Linked DNA regions of Homo sapiens: regions 1, 3, 4, 5 and 6 are each linked to region 2. The links are contacts of gene promoters, found by promoter capture Hi-C in blood cells and fetal thymus (Javierre and others, 2016). All regions are on one chromosome and are shown on one strand. The core of a region is centred on a gene start or on the middle of the fragment in contact, and the rest is flanking DNA. Distances in the headings are between cores, read along the strand shown.

Region 1 (3,937 bases), core at 1,438-3,937, 1.1 Mb after region 2:
ACCAAATCCGTATTAGGGTTCTCCAGAGAGTCCAAACCAACAGGATATGTGTATAGATAAATGAGAGGATTAGGGGAATTGGCTCATGCAGTTACAGTGTCTGAGAAGTTCCAGGACAGGCCATCTGCAAGTTAGAGACCCTGGGATGTCGCTAGCATGGCTCAATCCAAGTCCAAAGGCCTCAGAACTGGGGAAGCTGATTGTGTAACTCCCAGTCTGAGGCCAACAGCCTCAGGACCCGGGGGGCCACTGGTGTTAAGTCCTAGAGTTCAGAGGCAGGACAGCTTGGAGTTCTGATGTCCAAGGCAGCAGAAAAAAAGGTCTGTCCTAGTTCTCAGAAAGAGACTAATTTGCCTTCCATATTTGTTCTTTGGCCCCCAGCTGATTGGATGGTGCCTGCAAGCCGTAAGGGAAGAGTTTCCCCCACCATATCTACACAGACTAACACTTTCATCTTCTCTGAAAACACTCACAGACCCCCAAAATAATGCTTTACCGGGTTTCTACGCATCCTTAATCCAGTCAAATTGACACTTAAAATAAGCCCACAAGTTCCCACCTTGTCAACATGGCACCCAAACACATCATCTTAAACCATACTTAATTTCCAAATAAAAAACAGCAAGGTAATAGTTCTGCCTACCATGATGCAACTACCCTGAGAATAACCCAACACACAAATTCCTTCCCCAGAATTTGGTTTTCAGGATTTCAACATTCGGGATTTTAATCCTTCAGGATTGTGACTTTTTGGATTTTAGACGTTAGAGATTTTAGACTTTAGGGATTTTGATTGTTTGGGATTTCAACACTTGGGATTATGGCGCTCAGGATTGTGTCTTTTGGAATTGTGATGGGCACTGAGTTAGCTCACACAATCTGGTGAGTGCTTGCTGCAGACCAAGCATTTTGCTGAGCGAGATTCCATTAGACACAGTAAGTCCAGTCTTCACAACAGCACTCTGAAATAGGCACTGGGATTGGCTCCATTCAGCAGATTGGGAAATACTGGCCTAGTGTTAAGTGCTTTTGCCTTGGTCATGTATCTACGGGAGGTGACATAGCTGGGACTTACACGCACGAAACCTGGTGCCAAAGCCTGGGTTCATAAGCTTAACGTCATGAAATCCTTTTAGAAGCAGCAACCACCATGAAATTTACTCTGCTATAAGACCTCACTGTAAAAGATTGGTCTGTGGTTACTTTGAAAATAGAGGATTTAAAATCTATGTCCAGTAAATGCAATTTTAGTTTTCAACTTCAAAGTAATATATGAATAGAATTATAGCTTTTTAGTCTTGACAAATGTCACCATTCTATGGCAAACTTTTGAAGAGAAATGTTGTGTTCCAAAAGCTGCAAGTACATTAAATCTTTGTGTACAAAGCCAAAACCTTTTTCTCTCAGTGGGATGTTTTGTTGTGGGATTCCTGGATAACCCACATTAAGGACTGTCTGTAAAGAGAGAAAATCAAGTGATGGTATCATACAGGCCAAAATAACTGTCTATAGGATGTCTTGGGGTCTTTGGTGGCATCCTGTGGGAGACAGCTCAGTTCTGCTCCTGGGATAACTGGTAGAAGACATTCTTCCAGGCAGCTCTCAGAACTTGGCTTTCAGGCTGCACACAGAACTGGAACAGTACTGGGAAATGGTCAAAACTGTACATTTTAACAAAGCTAAAAGGAGAATTTTGAATGTTTTCACCACAAAGATACATTAAATATTTGTGGTAAGAGATATGCTGATTAGCCTGATTTTATCATCCCACAATGTATACATGTATCAAAATACCACATTGTACTCCATAAATACATGCAATAACTATCTGTCAATTAAACATAAAACAAAGAGTACAAGAAAAAGAGGAAACAAGATCAGGGACAGGGGTGATGTGAGCCCTGATCACACACATACTCTCTCATGTAATTCTCATGAAGGAACTGAACACGCTGCTTAATCCTTCTGGGTTGTGCTTTCTTAGTCTATCTCTTCATAGAGTTGTTTTGAGGATGAAATGATTTGAAACATATACAGCACTTAGGAGCAGTGCTGGGACCATCAGGAGCTCTTATGGTTACCAGTGTTTGTTTAGAAGCATGAGCTTTGTAGTCAGATAAACCTGAGTTTCACTCATGACTTTGGTACTTACTTTCTTGTCTAGAGAGGGCTGAAGATACACAGATATTTCGTCTAGAGAGGGCTGAAGATACACAGATATTTATGCTTCCTGTTCAACAGTAAGGAGTTATACGTGAGAAGTGTCTACCTAGCCAGATTCCACATTTCCCATTTCTTCCTGGAGTTAAGTGTGTACAGGTGACTGCGTTCTAGATTACAGAAACTTTGCACAAGTGATGTGCACCACTTCCAGGCCTGGTTCCTTAACCCTCCCAGATACTCTCCTGCATCCTCTTTCTCCTCTTTATTCTGCTAGAATATCGAAATTGACAGAGCTTCTGGCAGCCAGGTCTCTGCCTTCCTCTTCAACAACCTAGTAGACAAGAAATGAACGTCTATTGTGTTAGTGCCAGTGTGCATTTTTGGGTTTATAGAGCAGTTAGGTATAGCCACACTTAATATATGACCCTGGGCAATTATGTATCATCTGTGAACTTCCATCTGTAAAGTGTGGGTAATGGTACTTATTTTGCAATTTTGTTGTAAGGATTAAATGAAATCAAATATAAAATTTTCAGCTTAATCAGGTTGTTATTTTTATTATTTATATACCACTAACATCTAATAGTTAAAGTGTTAGGAGACATTTGATGGTCCTTTTACATGGCTGCAGTATAAATCCCTTTTCTTTCAGTTATATGACAGAAAAGTTATGTTGTTTTCCCAGAGCTCTGGGAGAACAACAGAGGGGAAGTCTATCTGTCCTCTTTATCATCTATTCCCTTGACAGCTTTACATTGAGATTCTGCTGAGAATCTAAACCCCATAAGGTTTGGGACTGGGTCTTATCTTACATCTCTTCCCCCAGAGTAGCTAGCCTAGTGTCTTGTATATAGCAAGTGATTAACACATGTTTCTTGCATTTTTTTTTATTTTCTAGTATTTATTATTTGCATACTATGTTTCCAGCACTGTGCATGTGCTTAATTTTCTTGCATTATTTTCATACAGAGTATCTCATGTGAAACTCCTACAGTATTATGAGATGAGCAGTACTTTTCTCCACTATAGAGATAAAGTCACATCGCATAGCAGCAACAGGAGAATTAGGATAGGAATCCAGGTAATCTGACTTCAGAGCCACTACAGTTCCTCTTATGGATGAATAATAGTAATCTTTAGCTTACTGAGGACATATCATGTAAGTGCTAAACTCTTTACATGTGTAAACCCATTTAATATTCACTACAGCTGTGTAAAGATGAAATTTGTGTATTAGGTGAAGTTTGTTACATAGATATAAAAAAACTAAAGGATGCCTAACTAAGGCATCCAACCCAGTCTTTGCCGTCTTTGGGGAAAAAATTGATAACAGGAAAAATCTACTCATGAATATTTGATAATTATGAAAAAGAAAATCTGGCTGTGCATACGGTAAAAGAATTATTTAATCCTCACTCATTCCTTCACCATTGAATTAGCACCTACGGTATGTCAGGCACTGAAGGAGGAGCTGAGGTTACAGAGAAGTCAGCCCCTGCCCTCAAGAGCTTTTCTGTCTAGTGGGTGTGGGAGAAACATAAACTTAGTGAACTTAAGACATATTAGAGCAAGAGCCAGCTGAATTCTTGATGCTGGGAACAGTTGGACATAACATGACCAGTTTGTACAGTCAGAAGCAGCCAAGTAGGAGGTAATAATTTTAGTTTTACATAAAATGAATGATTTATGAGTGTTTTCTGTTGGGGGGCAGGGAAGCAAAAGAAATGAGACTTACAAGTATTTGTTGGGTTCATTTATTTTAACATTTCCCATA
Region 2 (3,729 bases), core at 183-2,682:
AGTAAAAAGAATAAAAGGTTTTTTAGATTCCTAATGCTAATAATGCTTAATAGGCCCAAGTACCTAGTCTTTAACATTTATTTCTCTAACTGCACTACCCCCACTTTGAAATATTTTGTTTATACCATCACTCCCTACACCCCAAAATTAAAAACACACGTTTCCAGGGCCTGTTTTTATTTTTTTGTTTTTGTTTTGTTTTGTTTTTGCCAGCTAGATTAACTAGAACTGGACCGAGAGAAAGTCCTCACACCTGAGTTCCTTTCTCAACTCTCCACCAACTGAACCGGGATGGAAACAGACTAGTGAAGTTCTTTCAGTTCCCTTAAAGGTACTTTGAGGTATATAGCAGGTATCTGAAGAATGGCCAGTTTACTCTAACACTCTTTGGTGGGCAAAGTACGAAAACTGAAAGACAGCCTAAAGGATTCCATTAAGAAAAAAGAGAAAAAATAGCCTAATAAAATATAGGTGTCGGAGGACCAATTGTGCAAAAGAGAATCAAGCTGGAGCTCCCTATTTTGCAGGAGCTGGGGCTGCACAGGGTGGAGGGATATAACGATTCTCTAGACTTCTCAAGACTGCCTTTAAAAAACTACCTCAACTTCGACTTCTAATCAATGATCTTGCAGCAAGTTTGTATCTGACCTGGAATTAGAAACAGCTTCAGATCCCTACTAAGCAAGTTTGCTTCGGGGTGGGTAGGGGTCTCACCCAATTACCAAGTCTGTAAGCTGATTCCCAGCACTTCCTATCTATCATCTGAGTAAAATAAATATAAGTGGAAGGCAAGAGTTCTATAAACATTGGGTATCACCACTGTATTTTAAGGTAGAGTGACAGGTGTCCTGTAGAGTCCCTGTAATCACCGGTAACTCTTCAAAAACTTCACGGAGGTTGTATTAGTATTTCCTGACTTGCTCCCGCTGACACATGCCTCCAAGGTCAGCTGGACCAGTGCTACTCATCACCGCAGTGCAGCTAACTGGACGGCCCACCGGAGGCGTGGACTCCTCGGGAACAGGCAGCTTGCTATGAGCCCCCGGCCAGGTCAGTGCATCTCTCTGGCCCTGTTTTCTTATCCCGACTTTCCCCGCTGAGAAAATAACGTGGCCGGCCAGAGGCTGGGGGCGCCGCGTGACCAGGGCTCACCTGTGTCCATCCTCCAGCTGCTGGCACAGCGTGGGCTCCAGCTCCAGCAGGCAGAAGTCGCCGGCTGCAGCGCCGCTGGCCCCAGGGCCGAAGCCCAGGCAGTGCACCGCCGGCAGCAGCTCGGCCGCATTCAGCTTGGCGATCTGCAGCGTCGCATCCACCTCGTCGCGGGTCCTCTTCATCGCAGCGCCGGGTCTAGGAGTCCCGCCGCGCCCGGGTGGCTGCGGGCTTGGCGGGCAAGAAAGAAGTTCCCAAGCAGCCGGAAGGTAGGAAACCTGAGCGTTTGAAAGCGCGCCAAGGCGGCCATGGGCGTGTTTCCGGGGCGGAGCGCGCTGCGGGCCCGCCCGCGGGAAGGCCTGCCGGCTTCTGGGAGCGCGAGCCCCTCCGTGCCCCACGCCGGACCGCGACTGCAGGAAGGAAACGCGGCTTCCCGGGGGGCGGTCTCGGCGGAAGCTCGCAGGGGCAGAGCTGCGACTCGGCGGGTTGGGACACGGATCCCTCGCCCACCCTTTCCGCTGTCCCCTTGCCCGCCCCCCATCCCCGATCTCCGTCCCTGGTTTCCAGCCGATGCTCCCATTTCCTCGCCGTCCACATTGTCTCACCTTCCGCCAGTGGCGGGCCCTGTGATAACCACTTGGCATGTATAATTCCATGAGCCCGTTGCCACAACCCTGTAAGGTGGTGCCTTGGTCATTCCCTTTTGCCAATGAGGAAGCAGGCTCCTTGCTCGTGATGGCAGAGTCAGGAGGTAACAGAGTCTGACTCCAGCCTAGCCGACTGTGGCTCTAAAAGCTTCCTGCGGGGTTTTGTGCAAATAACCCATGCTCGGGAGCGAGGCCCTGGGAAGGAGTATCTCGCTTCTTTGGGTCAGGGCACCATCATATCTGGAGACAACGGCGGGACTAGTCTATTCGTTGAATACCTAGTGTTAACCGAAAAGTGACTGATGCAGGTCTCGTTCAATAGAGGTTTATTTAAGCAAGGTTGAGGACGCACCCGAAGGGAAAAACAAGTCACAGGAGCATCTGTGACTTGTACATTTTCCAAAGGTTTGGGGAACTTCAGTATTAAGAGTTTTAAGAGAAAAGGTTTTCACTATGCACACATACATGAATTGCTTGTAACAGCGTAATGTGTAAACTTTCCCAGAGATGCTTAGGGAATCGTTGAGGGCCCTGGCTGTCCCTGAGAGCTAAAATAGTCTGGGAGGAATCACTTAAGAGATGGTGACCTCCTACTAGTTAGTGCAAATCAGACCTTGCTTGAAGTGAAAGAAAGTGGTGGGTAAGGTGTTGAATTCAAAGGATCTGAGCAGACATTTTTTTCAATTCTTGGGTAAAATGATACGAAAATACCAGAGTAGGGCATCCCAGGAGTCTGGGCAGTGCTTTCGTTGGTGGTGGAAAGATTGGTTCATGTGACCTACTTCTTCACTAGCCTCTTTTACATTTGAATGCATAGGAATTCGGTGGAATGAAATCCTGAATGTGACAGTGGTTGCCTGATAAGAAGTTATTATTGAAGGGAATCAACCATTGTAGTTGCTCTATTAAATGGGAAACATTCCCTACAACTAGAAGCAGTGTCAACTAGAACCCTGACATTTACATCAGACAGGCATGGCTGCGAATCCCAACTCTCTTCAGAACTTTGTGACCTAAGGCAATTTACCTAATTTCTCTGAGTACAACTTCCTTATCGATAAAAAAGCACATAAGACCTACATTCTTAAGATGTACATTCTAAAATGCATGGCTGCTTAATAAATGGCAGCAGTTCTTTTTGTTTTTATGTATTAATCATTATGAATTTAATTTCCAATTAATGGTATGAAATTATTGCCATTAATTTGATATTCTGTCAGGGAGCTGGACCTGTGTTCCTCTCATAAGACAAAATGATGATAGTTTTTATTAATTCATTCTTTAAAATTATGTTAATATGTTTTTCTAAAGTAAGAAATTTTCTGTACCTTTTCAAAAAACGATTGAAGCTGGCTTAATCATTCATCTGGTAGCAGGAAAAAAATATTCTTTATCAGGTAAAAAAATGAACAGTTATAATAAATTTCAAAAGTTCTGTTCATGAGAACAGAATCAGCTAAAATTGATTCTGTTCTCTTGGACACTGTACTCTTGATTATATTGCTCATATATTGTGTTTCATGGCATGAAATGAGAATTTTATTTACTAAATCTTAGTTCATATTATAGAATCATGTATGAACTTTTTTCCTTTTCTTTTCCTCTCTTCTCTTCTTTTTTATTCAATAAAGAGCACAGTGACGGCCAGGTGCAGTGGCTCACGCCTGTAATGCCGACACTTTGGGAGGCCAAGGTGGGCAGATCACCTGAGGTCAGGAGTTCGAGACCAGCCTGGCCAACATGGCGAAACCCCGTCTCTACTAAAAGTACAAAAAAATTAGCCGGGCATGGTGGCAGGCGCCTGTAATCCCAGCTACTCTGGAGGCTGAGACAGGACAATCGCTTGAACCCAGGAGGCGGAGGTTGAAGTGAGCGGAGATCATGCCACTGCACTCCAGAGTGAGACTCTTGTCTCAAAAAAAAAAAAAAAAAA
Region 3 (4,128 bases), core at 1,396-3,895, 1.0 Mb after region 2:
TGTGTCCTTTCAGTGTCATTCTGAAGCACTGTATAACAGACTTACCCAAAGACTACTTAATAATTGAGGCAAATATGTCTGTGTTTGCTATCCTATTTATTAGATAGCAAATCAGAGCCCTGACTTTGTAATGCCACATTTTAACTTGTAGGTTTTTGTCCAGTAGAGATGCAAATAATTTCTATCTAGTAGAAAATGTAACTGCAGAGGACAGCTTACTAGTTTTATATAGAATATTTTATTTGAATATTCTTTCTTTATTCCCTTCTTTCTTTCCAGAAATTTTACTTGAATATTCTTTCTTTAATCCTTATAAATTCTCTGTTGCTTAAATGCTCTTTGATAATATTTTATGATTTCACTGATTCCTTCTGAAGTTAATATAAATTAATCATTATATATTGTATGTGAGTCATGTTTTTGTCTTTTTGAATATTATACTTTGCTAGTACTTAGCGATTTCCATTTTTTGCTAGCAATACCTATACATATTAGATACTCAACTTCAAAAAGTTTGTTGAAAAAAATGAGCAAATGAATACATGAAAGCATGAGCCGCAAAAGGAAGGCTAAGTGAGCCCTGAGTACTGTTAGCTTTGGACCCCACCTCCTCTCTAGAAGCTTCACTGGCAACTTCAGACCCAGCCTTTCCACTTCATACCAGCTGCACAGAAAGTTTGGTTTAAAACTAAATGTTATGTCACTATGAAGGGAAGTTGGGTGCGCTCTACACAGTGGAGTGTACTATCAGCAGAGTTCATGCTGTTTTACGATGTTTAGCTTGGATGGGAAGCCTCCATCTGCCCTTGGATGCGGCCGCTGATGTTAATTCAGTCTAGGCATTGATGGCTGAAGCTCTGTGTTTTCAACTATTTAATACCTAGCACCTGGTCCATCTCTTCACCACTCTTCATTCTGATTCATGATTTCCTCATATCTCTACTTTTTGCTCTATGTTTCCACCTTGGAGGGTATCCTACGTGCTTCTTTGGACAATTCCTAGTGCCTACATTTGAGCATCTAAACTCTTTACTTGACACTCTCATAATTTCTTCATGTATAGCCACATTTTCAATTTTTTATTTTTATGTTTTTAAAAAAGATATGGTTGTATCAATGATTCATTAGGGATTGTGTTCTGCTCCATGTCATGAGAACTTGAAAAAATGGTTCCTTAATAATTCAGGGATCTGTTTCTCTTTCCTATAAATAGAAGTGCTGAGAGGGGCAGTTCGGACTTCATTTTGTAGCTGAACAACACTCCCAGTAACCCAGGTTTCTTCTGTGTTTCCATGGAGACTCCATTGGCATGGGGTTTTTATTTTCAAAAATGTTTGGTGATTGCAAAATGAAAGCCCCTTTTCCAGTGTCAAGTTCACAATCTACATAGAATAAGGGACAGAGGTGAAGGGCACAGCACTTATTTTAGTTAAGTGTGTCTTTTTTTTATGGAACTTTCCCTGAATCCCTCCTAGTGATATCCAGTTACATCTCGTCAGCCACACTATGTGATGTAGCTACCCTTAGCCACAGTGGAAGCTGAGACAAAGCCAGCTACCCTGAACCAAACCTTGGTTCTCTTACTAAGGAAAAAGGGGAAACTAAATATAGGGTGCACTTTAAGTCCAGTGATTCTTTGTTGACTTTTTGCCTCGATGATCTGTCTAGTTCAATCAGTGGAGTGCTGAAGTTTCCCACTATTGTTGTGTTACTGTATATCTCTTTTCTTAGGTCTAGTACTAACTGCTTTATGAATCTGAGAGCTCTGGAGTTAGGTACATATATATTTAGGATTGTAATTTTTCTTTACTTTTTTCTGATTGGGTTAATTTGAAAGCCTTGTCTTTGAAGTCTGAAGTTCGTTCTTCTACTTGGTCTAGTCTATTGTTAAACTTTTACACTGCATATTTTAATTCCCTAAATATGTCTTTCATTTCCAGAAATACTGATTGATTTTTCTTTAAAATATCTCTTTATCTCGTTTAATTTTTTTTTCATTCATATCCTCCATTTGTTCCCTTCTCCAAGACCCTTCATGAGTGGGAGGGCTGCCTGACTGTCGGGGTAGATCTGAGACTAGACTTTCCCCAGTGAGCCTAGCAGTGTGCCTATGCCTCTGCTGAAAGAAACTGCCCACAAGTGGAAAGCTCGGGGACTCAGGGCTTGCAGCCTGATTTCTTTTGTCTCATGGGATGCTCCCTTGAGATGTCCCATGAGACATCCCATCAGATGTCCATGGCGCATTCCCTCTACCCTAGGAGTAGCAGTCCCTGCGGGGGCAAGACTACTGTGAATCCTGCTGCTCCTCTGGGTCTAGCCACCCAGTGGGGCTGCTGTACTCCAGTCTGGTGCTGGGGAATGTCTGCAGGGGATCCAGTGATGTGATGTTCCTAGTAGTGGGTAACAGCATCATTCCTGATGGGGGTCAGAGGGTAGTGCCATAGACTCTGGGATTTCCTGGATATAAATAGGCTTGTCATAGTAATATACTAAATACGTGGATAGACTCAAGGCCTCCTGGTTAGCCTGGATGATGCAAGCAATTGTGATCGCTGAGGTTACATAAAAGTATTCTCCTTCCTGAGTGCTGTGTTATTGTGCCTGCAGATGTTGCAATGGGCTGTGCCAGCTGGCCTCCAGCCAGGAGGTGGTGCTTGCCAAAGAGCACCAGCTGCAGTGGTAGCAGTGGAATTTGTGCTCGCCTTATGTTACCCACTGCAGGTACTCTGGTATCTCAGGTGATGGGTAAGGCCATGGAGCTTCCAAATATTCCTCTCCATTGTGTTACACTACCAGGGTAGGTGGAAGGGCAGAGCCTGGTAGGGCCTAGGTCAGGCAAGTTTGTACTCTGGCTTCCCAAGTGTGGACACAAGCAGTGGCCCCACTGAAGATCAGACAGCTGTTCCCTGGCTGCTGGGAGGAGCACAGCTGCCTCTGCTGCACAAAAAGATCCACGCAGGAAGCAGGGGATAGCAGGTGGCAATAAGCCCCACTCAGCTACTCAGCTCCTACTTATCTGGCAATACAGGTCTCACACTTGGGTTCCAGGCAGCCTGTACTCAGAACTCAAAACTGCCCCAGGCTCTAGGCCTACCCAACTGAGACAGAAACAGTGGCTTTCAGGTTATACCCCTTCCAGTCCATCCACAAAGCAGGCACCCAGCTCCTGTGCCCATTTCTTAGCACACTTCCTGCTCTCCCCTTGGTTCTGGGCATCAGGTTTCATCCCCCTTGAGATTATATCACAAATATCAATTCGGAGCTTCTGTCAACCTGTGACCACTGCCTGAGTTAGCTGGCAGACTTCTGTAAGGTCCCCTGAGACAGGATCAGGAATGGCTTCCCTCCACCCCGCTGGAGTCTGGGACTGCACACAAAGCATATCTTCATGCTGCTCCTTCTTACATACTCCCCACCACTCATTAAATCAGCTCCAGCACTGGGTAGAGTCACAACTTTTCTCCAGGGCCTGGACTGCCTGGCTCCCCAGTGGGAGTGTGTCACAGAGGCAGTCTCTCCCCTTCTCACACTATGCAAACCCCCAGTTTTTTACCTGGTTCGTGGTGGAGGCTACTTCCTCCTGCTTCTTTCCAAGAGTCTGTAGCTCCTTTCGGTTTTTCTATTAAGTTCCCGTGTTGCTTCTTGGAAAAAATTTCAGAGTGAGAATCTCGACACACTATTTTGTCTTTCCAAGTGGGAGAGGCATGCTAAAAATGCCTCCAATCTATCACCTTGAAAAAAAGAAAAACCCATTTACTTTTTAAGAAGAAAACATTTTTATTTGTATAAGTTGCCAAATTTCATACATGCTTACCTCAGCTTCTGACTATAATGGGGTAACCGTGATGGGACTTAATCCTCTCATAGTAAACAACTGGATAACTGGATGAAATACACAAGGCAACTATTTCTGGACAGTAGACAACAGGCAGTGCAGGGCTGTAATTTATGAGAGAAGGGAAATAAGCAAGGTGAATGCATTAGTTCCTTCTCACACTTCTATGAAGAAATACCCAAGATTGGGTAATTTATAAAGAAAAGAGGTTTAATTGACTCACAGTTCTGCAGAGCTGGGGAGGCCTCAGGAAACTTACAATCATAGCAGAAGGGGAAGCAAACACATCCTTC
Region 4 (3,668 bases), core at 649-3,148, 1.1 Mb after region 2:
TACAGTGACCACTTGTTTTGGCAGCATATATGTGCAGTTTTGGTGTAACTGTCAAACTTGAATTGTAGCATGATTAAATCAGGTAATTCTGAGTGAGCGTTAAGCAGAGTGGGAAGAAATGGAGGTATGAGTTTGGGTTTTGGCTTCAGACACTTGGTTTGCATGCACTCTAGTTGAGGGCTAGTTTTGCATCCTGGCGAACAGTATAGATTCTGTAGTCAGACGGCCTTTATCTAATTTCTGGCTCACAGTTAGTTGTGTTCATGAACATGAACAAGCTACTTAACTTCATCAAGCCTCAGTTTCTTCATCTATAAAATGAAAATAATGTTACCCTTTTTTGACATTGTGAGGTTTTAAGACGTACAGAGTAAGCATTCAATAAATGTTAGCTATTATTGAAAATCCCATAAAAATGAAACAAGAGTGTTCAAATATCTATCTACATGTTCACGTGGTCAAATTGACATAGGTGTTGGCTACAGTTGCTGTACATTTGTCATGTGGCTGGCCCTGTGAAAAGCACTCTATATGCATTTAACCTTTGCAACATCGGATAATGCATTATTTGTCTCATTTTGTAGATGAAGAAATTGAAGCTTAGGGAGCTCAAGTAACAGAGTTGGTAAATGGCAGAGCTGGGATTCTGGCTCAGGTATATCTGATTTCAGAGCCCAAGCACCTCGTTTATTAGCTGCTTTTGGTTCTACCTTCTTCCATAGCCACATGACTCACTCCCTTGCTTATTTCATGTCTCTGCTTAGTTTTCACTAATTTATCCACTCTGTAGAAAACAGCAGTCCCCTCCCTCATCCCTACACTTCCTGTCTGCCACACCGCTTTATTTAGCATTATAACATCTTATATCATATGGCACTTTACAATTACTTGCTTCTTGATCATTTGTCTCTCACTGGAACAAAAGCTCCTTAAGGCCAGGGCCCTTGTATTATTCACTGGTGTGTCTCCAGCACCCAAAGTGGTATCTGGCAGCTTCACAAAACAGGTAAGTGATTTGAGTTCACTCTGTCAAAGAACAACATTTGTTTGACTGTAGGAGTAAATTACAATTTGTTTTTATATCATATGTACAGACTGATCTGTGTGGTACAGAGACCAAGCAAATAGTGGTAATCCTTCACAGAACACATTTTATTCATATATTTTAACAAGGATGATGTACAAATATTTATCAATGCAAATTTTTATCTTTATTACACATATTCAAAAATGTCCCAATGAGTTCTGCTGCATTTTCTTTACAAATACATGTTTTGATAATAGCTTTATTTATATATAATTTATTTACCATAGAATTCACCCCTTGAAAGTGAATACTCCAGTGACTTTTACTACATTCATGAGCTTTGCAACCATGGCAGCCATCAATTTTTTTTTTTTTTTTTTTTTTTTTTGAGATGGAGTTTTGTCTTGTCACCCAGGCTGGAATGCAGTGGCGTGATCTCAGCTCACTGCAACCTCCTCCTCCCGGGTTTAAGTGATTCTCCTGCCTCTGTCTCCCGAGTAGCTGGGATTACAGGCACGTGCCACCATGCCCGGCTAAATTTTGTATTTTTAGTAGAGATGGGGTTTCACCACGTTGGCCAGGCTGATCTCGAACTCCTGACCTCAGGTGATCCGCCTGCCTTGGCCTCCCAAGCAGCCATCAATTTTAAGACCTCTTCATCACCCCCAAAAGGGTACACTTCCAAAAGGAAGCCTGTACCAATTAGCCATCATCCCCACCATTTGCTCCCAAACCTCAAGCCTAGGAAATCGTTAATCTAATTTCTTTCTCATGGATTTTCCTATTTAGACATTTGACATAAATGGAATCATGCAACACACACACACACACCGCCATAGTGGTATCTGGGGTATATAACATATACTCTATAAATATTCACATTCAAATAAATACACTAATTAATTGAGATCAGTGAAACAAGTCACAGAAAACTTAAGATTAAGACAGCCTCACTTATAATTTCATTGCCTTTAGATTTATTCTGAATGTTTTCATGTGTGTCTCATATTTGTGATGTTTTGAAGACATTCTATGAGCCATTATTTCCTCTAAGAATTGGGGAACCTGCAGTCCATACATTGGGTCTTGTTCCTCTACTTAATTTCACTTGGTTCATTGGAAAAGTACCAAGAAAGTGATGTTGCTGTTTACAATTGTTGCATAGTTGAGAAGATGGAGTAAGGCATCAGAAGCCTTCAGCTGCAGTATCCTTACCTTCCACAAGATGGTGCTCCTATTCTATAGAAGTCACTGTATTGCTCAGGTTCTGTGATGCTTGTTTTTCTGGGTTTGACTTTTTAATTTCGTTGTGCTTGTCTCTGCCTTTTTCTTAGAATTTTTGGTGTTTCTATCTCTTTCTACTTTTCTTTTTTTCTCTTATATTTAAACCTTTACCTGGGCAGTTTATTATATAGAACAAAGTAGACATCTTTATTGTTTAACAAAATAAGGTTGAGTTTTATGTTCCTTGATGTTATCTTTAAAATCTAATGAATGCACAATAATGTAGACTATATACTTATTTATCTAAGGAAAATCAAATATGTAAAAGTTGTTTCTGAGGTCAGTTATGTGGCTGTTGACTATTCTTTTCTCTCTCTAGATTAATTTTGTAAGTTTTTTTATGGTTTTTAAAAACAGGGTTTTACTGTTGCCCAGGCTGTAGTGCAGTGGCATGATCATGGCTCACTGTAGCTGCAAACGCTGGGGCTCAAGTAATCTTCTTGCCTCAGCGTCCCAAAGTGCTGAGATTACAAGTATGAACCATGGTGCCTAGCCCTATTTTGTAAGATTTTTAGAGTTGTGGCTGGGCGCAGTGGCTCACGCCTATAATCCCAGCATTTTGGGAGGCTGAGGTGGGCAGATCACCTGAGGTCAGGAGTTCAAGACCAGCCTGGCCAAGATGGTGAAAACCCATCTCTACTAAAAATACAAAAATTAGCTGGGCATGGTGGTGGGCGCCTGTAATCCCAGCTACTCAGGGGGCTGAGGCAAGGAATTGCTTGATTCCAGCCTGGGAGGCAGAGCAAGACTCCGTCTCAACGAAAAACGAAACAAAACAAAAGACTTGTGAGGCTTGGAGGTATTGAATTGTTTTTGAGGTCATTCATGTGGCTAATGACTATTTTTCCCTCTTTTAAGGTTAATTTTGTAAGACTTACAGAAGTTTTAAAGCTTGGAGATATGAAGTGATTTGTCACAAATAGTACAGGTTGCTGGAAGAACCAGGAATTAAATTTACATCAGTTTGCTTTAAGTCTACCTCACGTTTACTCTGCCTTGCTGACATCCTGCTCCTTGATTCTCTGAATCAATCCTACTATTCAAGAAAAAAAGTTTAAAAAGTAGGTTAGTTTAAAAGGCAGAAGTAGATGATTTCTGACAACTGACAACAGAACAAGTAAATACGGGTGTGCTGATGTGGTAGGCCACACGTTTGGTATTGTAAGGTCCATCTTTTTTTTTTTTTTTTTTCTTTTTCAGCATCCCTTCCTTTTGGGAAATGCTTCTTAACCCTCTACTTGATTACAATAGAACCAGTAGGAACTTCAATCCTGTGGCTTTGTCTTCAATTCATGAATGTGTGCGTGACTCAGACTGACCAAGTAGAGAAACTCCTCCTTGCAGGAAGGGATTGGCT
Region 5 (3,576 bases), core at 230-2,729, 1.1 Mb after region 2:
GAACAAATTAACAAGAAAAAACAAACAACTCCATTAAAAAGTGGGCAAAGAATATGAATATACCCCTTTCAAAAGAGGACATACATACAACCAACAAGCATATGAAAAAATGCTCAACCTCACTAATCATTAGAGAAATTCAAATCAAAACCACAATGAGATACCATCTCACACCAGTCAGAATGACTATTATTAAAAAGTCATCAAGTAGCAGATGCTGGTGAGCTTGCAAAGAAAAGGGAACACTTATACACTGCTGGTGGGAGTGTAAATTAGTTCAGCCATTGTGGAAAGCAGTTTGGCAATTTCTCAAAGGACTCAAAACAGAATTACCATTCAACTCAGCAATCCCATGATTGAGTATATACCCGAAGAACTATAAATCATTCTATCATAAAGAACATGCATCTCATGTTCATCACAGCACTATTTACAATAACAAAGACATTGAATCAACCTAAATGCCTCTCAACGGTAGACTGGATAAAGCAAATATGGTATGTATACACTATGGAATATTATGCAGCCATAAAAAAGAATAAGATCATGTCCTTTGCAGCAACAAGGATGCAGCTGGAGACTATTATCCTAAGGAACAGAAAATCAAATAGTTTATACTCTCATTTATAAGTGGGAGCTAAACATTGAGTACACATGGACACAAAGAAGAGAACAATAGACACCAAGACCTACTTGATGGTGGAAGGTGAGAGGGGGTGAAGATAGAAACACTACCTATCAGTTACTACGCTTATTACCTGTGTGATGAAATAATCTGTATCCTAAATCCCTGTGACACGCAATTTACCAATATAACAAACCTGCAGATGTACTCTTGAACATAAAAGTAAAATCATGAAAAGCCCTATTGAACTGTCCTTCAGACTCTTATTTATTCATCATTCAATTATTCATTTGGTTATTTTTTCAAATCTTCCCTTCATTTGATTTTTCTATTATTCTTTTGATTAATGATTATCAATACCTACAATGTGTCAGAAGTTATGCTTGGTATCGAGTGGAGATTTAAAAATATTAAGACAAGGCCGGGCATGGTGGCTCACACCTGTAATCCTAGCACTTTGGGAGGCCGAGGCGGGTGGATCACCTGAGATCAGGAGTTCAAGACCAGCCTGGCCAACATGGTAAAACCCCGTCTCTACTAAAAATACAAAAAAAATTAGCCAGGTCTGGTGGTGGGCACCTGTAATCCCAGCTACTTGGGAGGCTGAGGCAGGAGAATTGCTTGAACCTGGGAGGTGGAGGTTGTGGTGAGCCGAGATCATGCCACTGCACTCCAGCCTGGGTGACAGAGTAAAACTCCATCTCAAAAAAAAAAAAAAATATATATATATATATATATATATATATACATATATATAAAATTCTTGTGCTGAAAGAACTAATACACCATATAATCTTTAAAAAAATTGCTGGGAGTTACACCCTCTGGCCATTTTGAAGGTAACATATAATACTGAGAGCCTCTTGCTTCCTACCAAGCCAGTTTTCAGGTTAAGGGAAATGAGTGCAGGCACCTGGATTCCCAATCCTGGTTGCAGCCTCTCTTCTCTCCACACCAAATTCCAGGCCTGTCACTGAAGACTTGCAGCTTGGGAGAAATTCTAAAACTCACTCAACTACAGAGAAGTTTAATGAGGAATTCAGGACAGGAAGTTAAGTTTACTATTATGTTTTCAATCATGAAAGGGAACGGTTTGGATATCTATTTTGAGGCAAACACTATCATCTTCTGTTTTACAGTAGTGTTTTTTTAGAAGCTATTTAAGACTATATGACTCCTTTTATAATTATCAAGATTTCAGATAAGCACTGAGCTGCTCCACTACATAATTGTAGCAGTGAGTGTGGGTGCCCCACCCACTTGAAGATAGACTGGAGTCAGCCCACATTTATATATTTGATGTGGTTTTATAGGAAGAGCCCCAAGTGAAATTCTTCCATATGGTGGCTCTTTGGGACCTAATCCAGGTGTCTTATTCAAAATCAGGGTTTTCAAGTCTGAAGTGAAGTACAATGGAGTACTTTAAAGAATTCAGCAGTCGGCAGTACTTTGATGATTTAAAATGCATACCTTAATGTAACCAACATTTATTGAGTGTTTATTACATGTACTAGATATTTTCACAGACATTAACTTGGTTACTTCTCAAACTAATGTATTGAAATAAATATTTTTTTATAAATGAGAAAATGGAAGTTCAGAAAGTTTAATCAACTGCCCCCAATTCAGAAAGCTATTACACATTGGAAACATGTCTAGTTATAAATGTTTTCTCCCTTTCATTACTAATGAAAGCAATGCTCCTCAGGTTTGCTTCCTTCTTCAGTCTCTCCTTCTTTTTTTTTTCTTCCTTCCCTTTCCTTCTCCCTTCTTTCTCTATTGTATCCCTTCTCTCAATTACCCTTCCTCCATCCTTTCTTTCTTGAGTGTCTGCTATGTGTCAGGCCCTGCCCTGGGACTTGGAGATTCAGACGCCATGATCTAGCCCTTTGTGAGAAACAGACGGGATGGTCACAGTGAGATATTTACTAAGAAATCAGTTATATAATCCTGGAGCTTGACTGAAAGAAAATTTGGGGCAAGAAATACTTTGTGAAATCACACATGCTTTTAAGACCACCTAAAAGTCTACTTAGAGTTACAGGAGGGTCAAAAACAGGGACCCAGGAAATACTGACCTTCATGAAGATTCATGGAAATCGAGGAGCCTCTGAGAGATTCCAAGGAGGAAATGGCCTCAGTGAAGAGAAGAAAATTGAAAGCTATTTTTGTCATTAAAAGTGTCACAAAATTCAGAAAAATTAACACAACTGAGCTTCCATGGTTGGAAAGTGGAAGGGTCATAGGTAAATATCATTATTAGGAGGAATATTATTCCGCATTCATATATTTCCATATAGAATTAGTGGCTCTATTTCTGTCCCTTAGACATGTCATCTTGGTGGAGAGAGGTGATACTCTATTGATGACTGTGGGGGAGAAACAGCCCTGCATAGCTCCCTTGTCTTTGGGATCTGCCTGATTGAATAAAGCACAATTTTTTGTCTCCCCTGGGTCGTAATATAATCTTATCAGCAAAAGCCCTATCTAAGGTAGATCAGAGCTGCCTGTGACTGGGAGTGTGCAATCCAGTATAGGTAAACCCAGTGTAGCGGCATACTTAAAAGCATTTCTGTATCAGCATTATCAGTATTACATCTGACTTCTTTTTTAAGAGACAGGGTCTTGCTGTGTTGCCCAGGCTGGTGTGTAATGATTATTCACAGGTGTGATCATAGTGCACTATGGCCTCGAACTCCTGGGTTCAAGCCTCCTGCTACAGCCTCCTGAGTAGCTGCGACTACAGGCATGCACCATTGTGCTAAGCTAAATCTGATACTTTTTCCTTCATTTACCAAACTCTTTCTCTTTCATTAGAGTCTCACCTTGGATAAGAAAGAAGGATGATACTATTTTGGGCCCCTTTAACTTTAACAACCATAAACAGTTCCCTTTATTAACAAGCAACAAAGAGCATATTCCAATAATATAGTTAGATGTAAAAATTGGCA
Region 6 (3,995 bases), core at 1,307-3,806, 1.1 Mb after region 2:
TGCATAGAAGACATCTCGAAATCTAAGGGCAACCACTGTTTGAGTTTTGTTTTTCCAGCTACAAGCAAGATGAAGTGGAATAACCCTGGGCTTTGAAGTCAGAAGGAACTCATTCATTTGTTCATTTATTCAATATATTCTTGTTGAGCTCCTTCTATGTGTCAGGTACTATTAGGCTGGTGCCAAAGTAATTGCAGTTTTTGCCATTGAAAGTAGTGGCAAAAATCGTAATTACTTTGGCACCAACCTAACATGTTAGGCTCTGGGGACTTAGCAACAGACTGATGGGCTGCTTGCTTCCACAGATATTATAATTTAGTAGGAGGGTGGAGGTGGAGAGGTCTGACAACAAACATATAAATACTCCTCAGCTCCCAGCCTCCATATTTTCTATTTTTGTGATATAGGGTAAGTTATTAATTACTCGGTGATATCTCACACAGCAGGTGCTCAGCAAGTGTTGGTTCTCTACCTTCTCTACTCCTGACCCTACAGGGTGCAAGTGAAAAGACAAACTGACTCTTTCTCAATGTGATTGATGCCTTTTTTGAAACCAGGGAAATGAAGATCCTTGTCATCTCCATGAACCACAGATAGATTTGGAATGAGCTGGCTTCATTGTCTAATGTCCCTGTGAGTGTCTTTCTTTCAAGTCTGAGAGTGAATCATCCTCTTATATTTTACTCTCCGTTTTGCCTTGACAAAGAGAATGCTTTGGGATAAACAGCTCTGAAACTATAAATGTTACTTTAAAAAAAAAACTACTGCAAATTGCTTGTACTGACTTATTCTACCTTTTACTGAATTCTGCCAATTAAGGTGTTTAAGAAAAGCTGTGAAATGTAATGGTTCTTAGAATCACTTTCTAGTAGATAGAGCTCCTCTTGGGTCAGCTTGACTGTATGATCGCGTCACTAGATTGGGACATAGAAGACAGAGGGTGAATTTATTGATAAGGAAATATCATCATTAATTGTTATAATTTTAATGCAAATACTATTTATGATGGATTAAAAAATGTAGTCTGTAATGATGTTTCTCAAAATATGTCCAGAGTTCCAAACACTTGAGTTCAAACAAATATTTACACTATAGCTTGCTGGTGTATTGAAGGAATGGATATGATGTGAATTGAATAGTCCTTTCACTCTCTCCCACTACCCTTCTCTTGCTCCAGGCAATTGTAATACATATTTTATCCTTAGCATAGATTTTATATGAGACACCAACATCTTTTCTTCTTGAAGAAATAACAGTAAATCTATACTATGTGGCAGAAAAACTGTTAACAAATAGCTTCGTATATTAACAAAACTCCCAGTCTCCCAACAAAATGCATATGTTGCTCAGGTAGCTATCAAGTAGTTCTTCAGTTGTGTGTTAATTGAGGACAGGAACCAAAAGAAATAAAAGACAAAAGGGTTTTTTAGTCTTTAAGTTCTGGGATACATGTGCTGAACATACAGGTTTGTTACATAGGTATACATGTGCCATGGTGGTTTACTGCACCCATCAACCCATCATCTAGGTGTTAAGCACCACATGCATTAGATATTTATCCTAATGCTGTCCTGACAAGAGGGATTTTTGTTGGAAAAGGCAGAGAGTTACTGGCAGGAGGAAAACAACAACAAAAAGAAAGGACAAAGGGACTAGGAGGCCGAAAGTATGTTATTGGAGATCTTGAGAGCATGGAGGTGGTTAGGAAAAAGATTTGATTTTGTGAGTAGCTGCCATATGTGACATATATAGACAGGGAGAATGATAACGGAAAGAGGCTTTAAGAAGTTTGGCTTTGCATTATAAATGTAATCTACTCCTGGCTCCTTTTTAGGGAACTACAGTAAAGACATAAATTACATTCAATTATTGTGTCTGCAGGATCTTTTTTTTTTTTTTTTTGCATGTAATACTAAAGACAGTTGGGGCCTCTGAATGGCTTTATAAAGGTTAACTTTGAATAAAGCATTTGAACCATTCTGCCATTTTTGTGCCTTAAAACTCCCTGTTTCTCCAGGCATCCTATGAGATATATCTTCAGTATTGAGAAGAAATAGCTGAAAATCCAAGGGCTTGAAGTTAGACAGATCTGGGTTTGACTTCTAACTGCTCACTTGCTAGCTGTTTCTCATAGCGCAATATCACCTCATAGGGCAGTATTACCTCAGCTTCCTTATCTATAATATGGAGTTAAGAGTATCTACTCTGTAGGACTGTTGTAATCATCAAAACAAAACATCTAGCAAATATCATAAAACAACTGGGGCTTCATCAGTCCGAGTCCTGCCAGAAAACATGGCCCATTCAAATTAGGAAAACTTGAGGAAAATGTAGAGCAGGGCAATGTGTAGGCAGGGCAGAGGAAAACTACAAGATATAGTACAATATTCTGGGGTCACCAACTTTAGGCCTGAAGATGTGAGCAGAAGAAGTGTTTCCTGGGATCCAGGGAGAACCTAAGAAGGCTGTGTAGGGAGAACTATCAGGCAGGTGCTGAGACCTTTTGTGGAGAAATGTGCCCAGCCCTTGGCAATCACTGGGGAATTGGGAAATGAATTGTGTAGCTTTCTTCCCTCTCTTTTCGTCCCTCTAGTTTCCTCCAGGGTCTTCTATTGGTTAAACCTAACTTGAAGCCATTTGGTAAGGAAGTCCATTAAGGTCACAGGAGTCAGCTGTGAAACAGATTAAATAAGGATTGAGAGTGGATCTGGGGCAAACTAAACAGACTCATCGTGCTCAGTAAGTATCAATTCCCTTATTTTTCTTCCCAATAGTGTGGAAAAGAGGATGTCTTTCCCATGGAAGAATAATCATACAGTAGAGGTGTCAATAGTCCCTGAAAGACTATCCCTTATATGTAAGTTCTTCAGATTGTGATACATCACAGACACAGCTCTGGAGTTGGAAATCAACACCTATCAATCTTTGTTCAAAGGATCAGCAGGAAGAGCATGGCTAGTCTAGTGGCCGGCTCTCTGAGAGTGAGTGATGCAGAGAACTTGCTATGCTGGTCAGAGATAAACAGGAGCTCTTGTTTCGACAGTGGCTTTTCAAGTTTGCCTCTTGGCATGAAGCTGACTTTGGCAGAGGGTATCATATAAACAGGGCATATGCCCAAGCATGTAAGCCAGGCCCAACTTGCTGGATATATTCTCACCTCCAGCGCAAGACTCATGGCTATCTGACAAAGCTGATGGTAGGGAATTTTTTCAGAAGACTGACCTCTTGGACTTTTTTCAAAATTTGTACATAAACTGAAGACTCTGTTTGGGAAAGAGAATGCTTGGTCATCACTTTGGCAGAGCTTTGATTCACTTCACTTGTTAAGCTCCTGACCTTTGAATGAATAACTCTTCTCCTTTGCTTCCCAGAAGATATATTCATATCCTAGTCCCCAGAACCTGTGAATGTTGTGATGTTTGGAAAAGTGTCTTTGCAAATGTCATTAAGTTAAGGATATTGAGAAGAGGCGATCATTCTGAATTATCTGGATGGGTCCTAGATCCAATAGCAAGCATGCTTATAAGATACACATGGGGGATAGATACAATGAGAAAAAGGCTATGTGAAGATGGAGGCAGAGATTAGTGTGATGTAGCCACAAGCCAAGAAAGCTGGCAGGCATCAGAAACTGGAAGAGATGTGGAACAAATTTTTCCCTAGGGGTTTTGTGGGGAGTATGACCCTGGTTGTAGACTTCTGGCCTCCAGAATGGTGAGGAAATAAATTTCCATCATTGTAAGACACTAAGTTTGTGGTAATTGGTCGCAGCAGCCCCAGGAAACAAATATACCTCCTATAAAACCATCTATGTTAGCACTGTGACTGCTAAGCACTCTGAATATTAGCAGCCTGAAGAACTATAGAAATAGTGCAGATTTTATATACTTGAAAATTTGGTTCTTATCACAAAAAAAACTGATAAGTATGGAGGTAATGCATATGTTAATTAGTTTGATTTAGTCATTCCACAATACACATATTTCAAAACATCA

What was found. The method cuts DNA at HindIII sites, captures the fragments that hold promoters and counts their contacts. A CHiCAGO score of 5 or more calls a contact.
Region 1: a contact is called between a fragment that was not itself captured here and the fragment with the promoter of DSCC1 in region 2, in 2 of 17 cell types (naive B cells and total B cells). The highest score is 10.9, in naive B cells.
Region 3: a contact is called between a fragment that was not itself captured here and the fragment with the promoter of DSCC1 in region 2, in 1 of 17 cell types (naive B cells). The highest score is 6.2, in naive B cells.
Region 4: a fragment that was not itself captured here is called in contact with the fragment with the promoter of DSCC1 in region 2 in 7 of 17 cell types (total B cells, naive CD4 T cells, total CD4 T cells and 4 more); the score reaches 14.4 in total B cells.
Region 5: a fragment that was not itself captured here is called in contact with the fragment with the promoter of DSCC1 in region 2 in 1 of 17 cell types (total CD4 T cells); the score reaches 5.2 in total CD4 T cells.
Region 6: a contact is called between a fragment that was not itself captured here and the fragment with the promoter of DSCC1 in region 2, in 2 of 17 cell types (total B cells and naive B cells). The highest score is 7.6, in total B cells.

Annotation. Positions count from the first base shown.
Region 1 is chr8:120,964,582-120,968,518 of GRCh38, forward strand. No RefSeq gene overlaps it. Among named protein-coding and RNA genes, the nearest start is that of SNTB1, 150 kb to the left of the region's middle. The HindIII fragment of the contact is 3,155 bases long and covers 1,111-3,937 here.
Region 2 is chr8:119,854,462-119,858,190 of GRCh38, forward strand. It overlaps DSCC1 (DNA replication and sister chromatid cohesion 1), which reads right to left and starts at 1,433. Exons shown (of 9, transcript NM_024094.3): 1 at 1,153-1,433. The coding sequence starts at 1,334. LOC105375728 (a long non-coding RNA gene) reads left to right here. Exons shown (of 4, transcript XR_928590.3): 2 at 214-341; 3 at 945-1,418. RefSeq lists an enhancer at 1,105-1,414 and a silencer at 1,525-1,584. The HindIII fragment of the contact is 2,867 bases long and covers 1-1,942 here.
Region 3 is chr8:120,858,995-120,863,122 of GRCh38, forward strand. No RefSeq gene overlaps it. Among named protein-coding and RNA genes, the nearest start is that of SNTB1, 49 kb to the left of the region's middle. The HindIII fragment of the contact is 4,053 bases long and covers 620-4,128 here.
Region 4 is chr8:120,949,123-120,952,790 of GRCh38, forward strand. No RefSeq gene overlaps it. Among named protein-coding and RNA genes, the nearest start is that of SNTB1, 140 kb to the left of the region's middle. The HindIII fragment of the contact is 2,603 bases long and covers 598-3,200 here.
Region 5 is chr8:120,909,092-120,912,667 of GRCh38, forward strand. No RefSeq gene overlaps it. Among named protein-coding and RNA genes, the nearest start is that of SNTB1, 99 kb to the left of the region's middle. The HindIII fragment of the contact is 8,091 bases long and covers 1-3,576 here.
Region 6 is chr8:120,925,036-120,929,030 of GRCh38, forward strand. No RefSeq gene overlaps it. Among named protein-coding and RNA genes, the nearest start is that of SNTB1, 110 kb to the left of the region's middle. The HindIII fragment of the contact is 8,548 bases long and covers 1-3,995 here.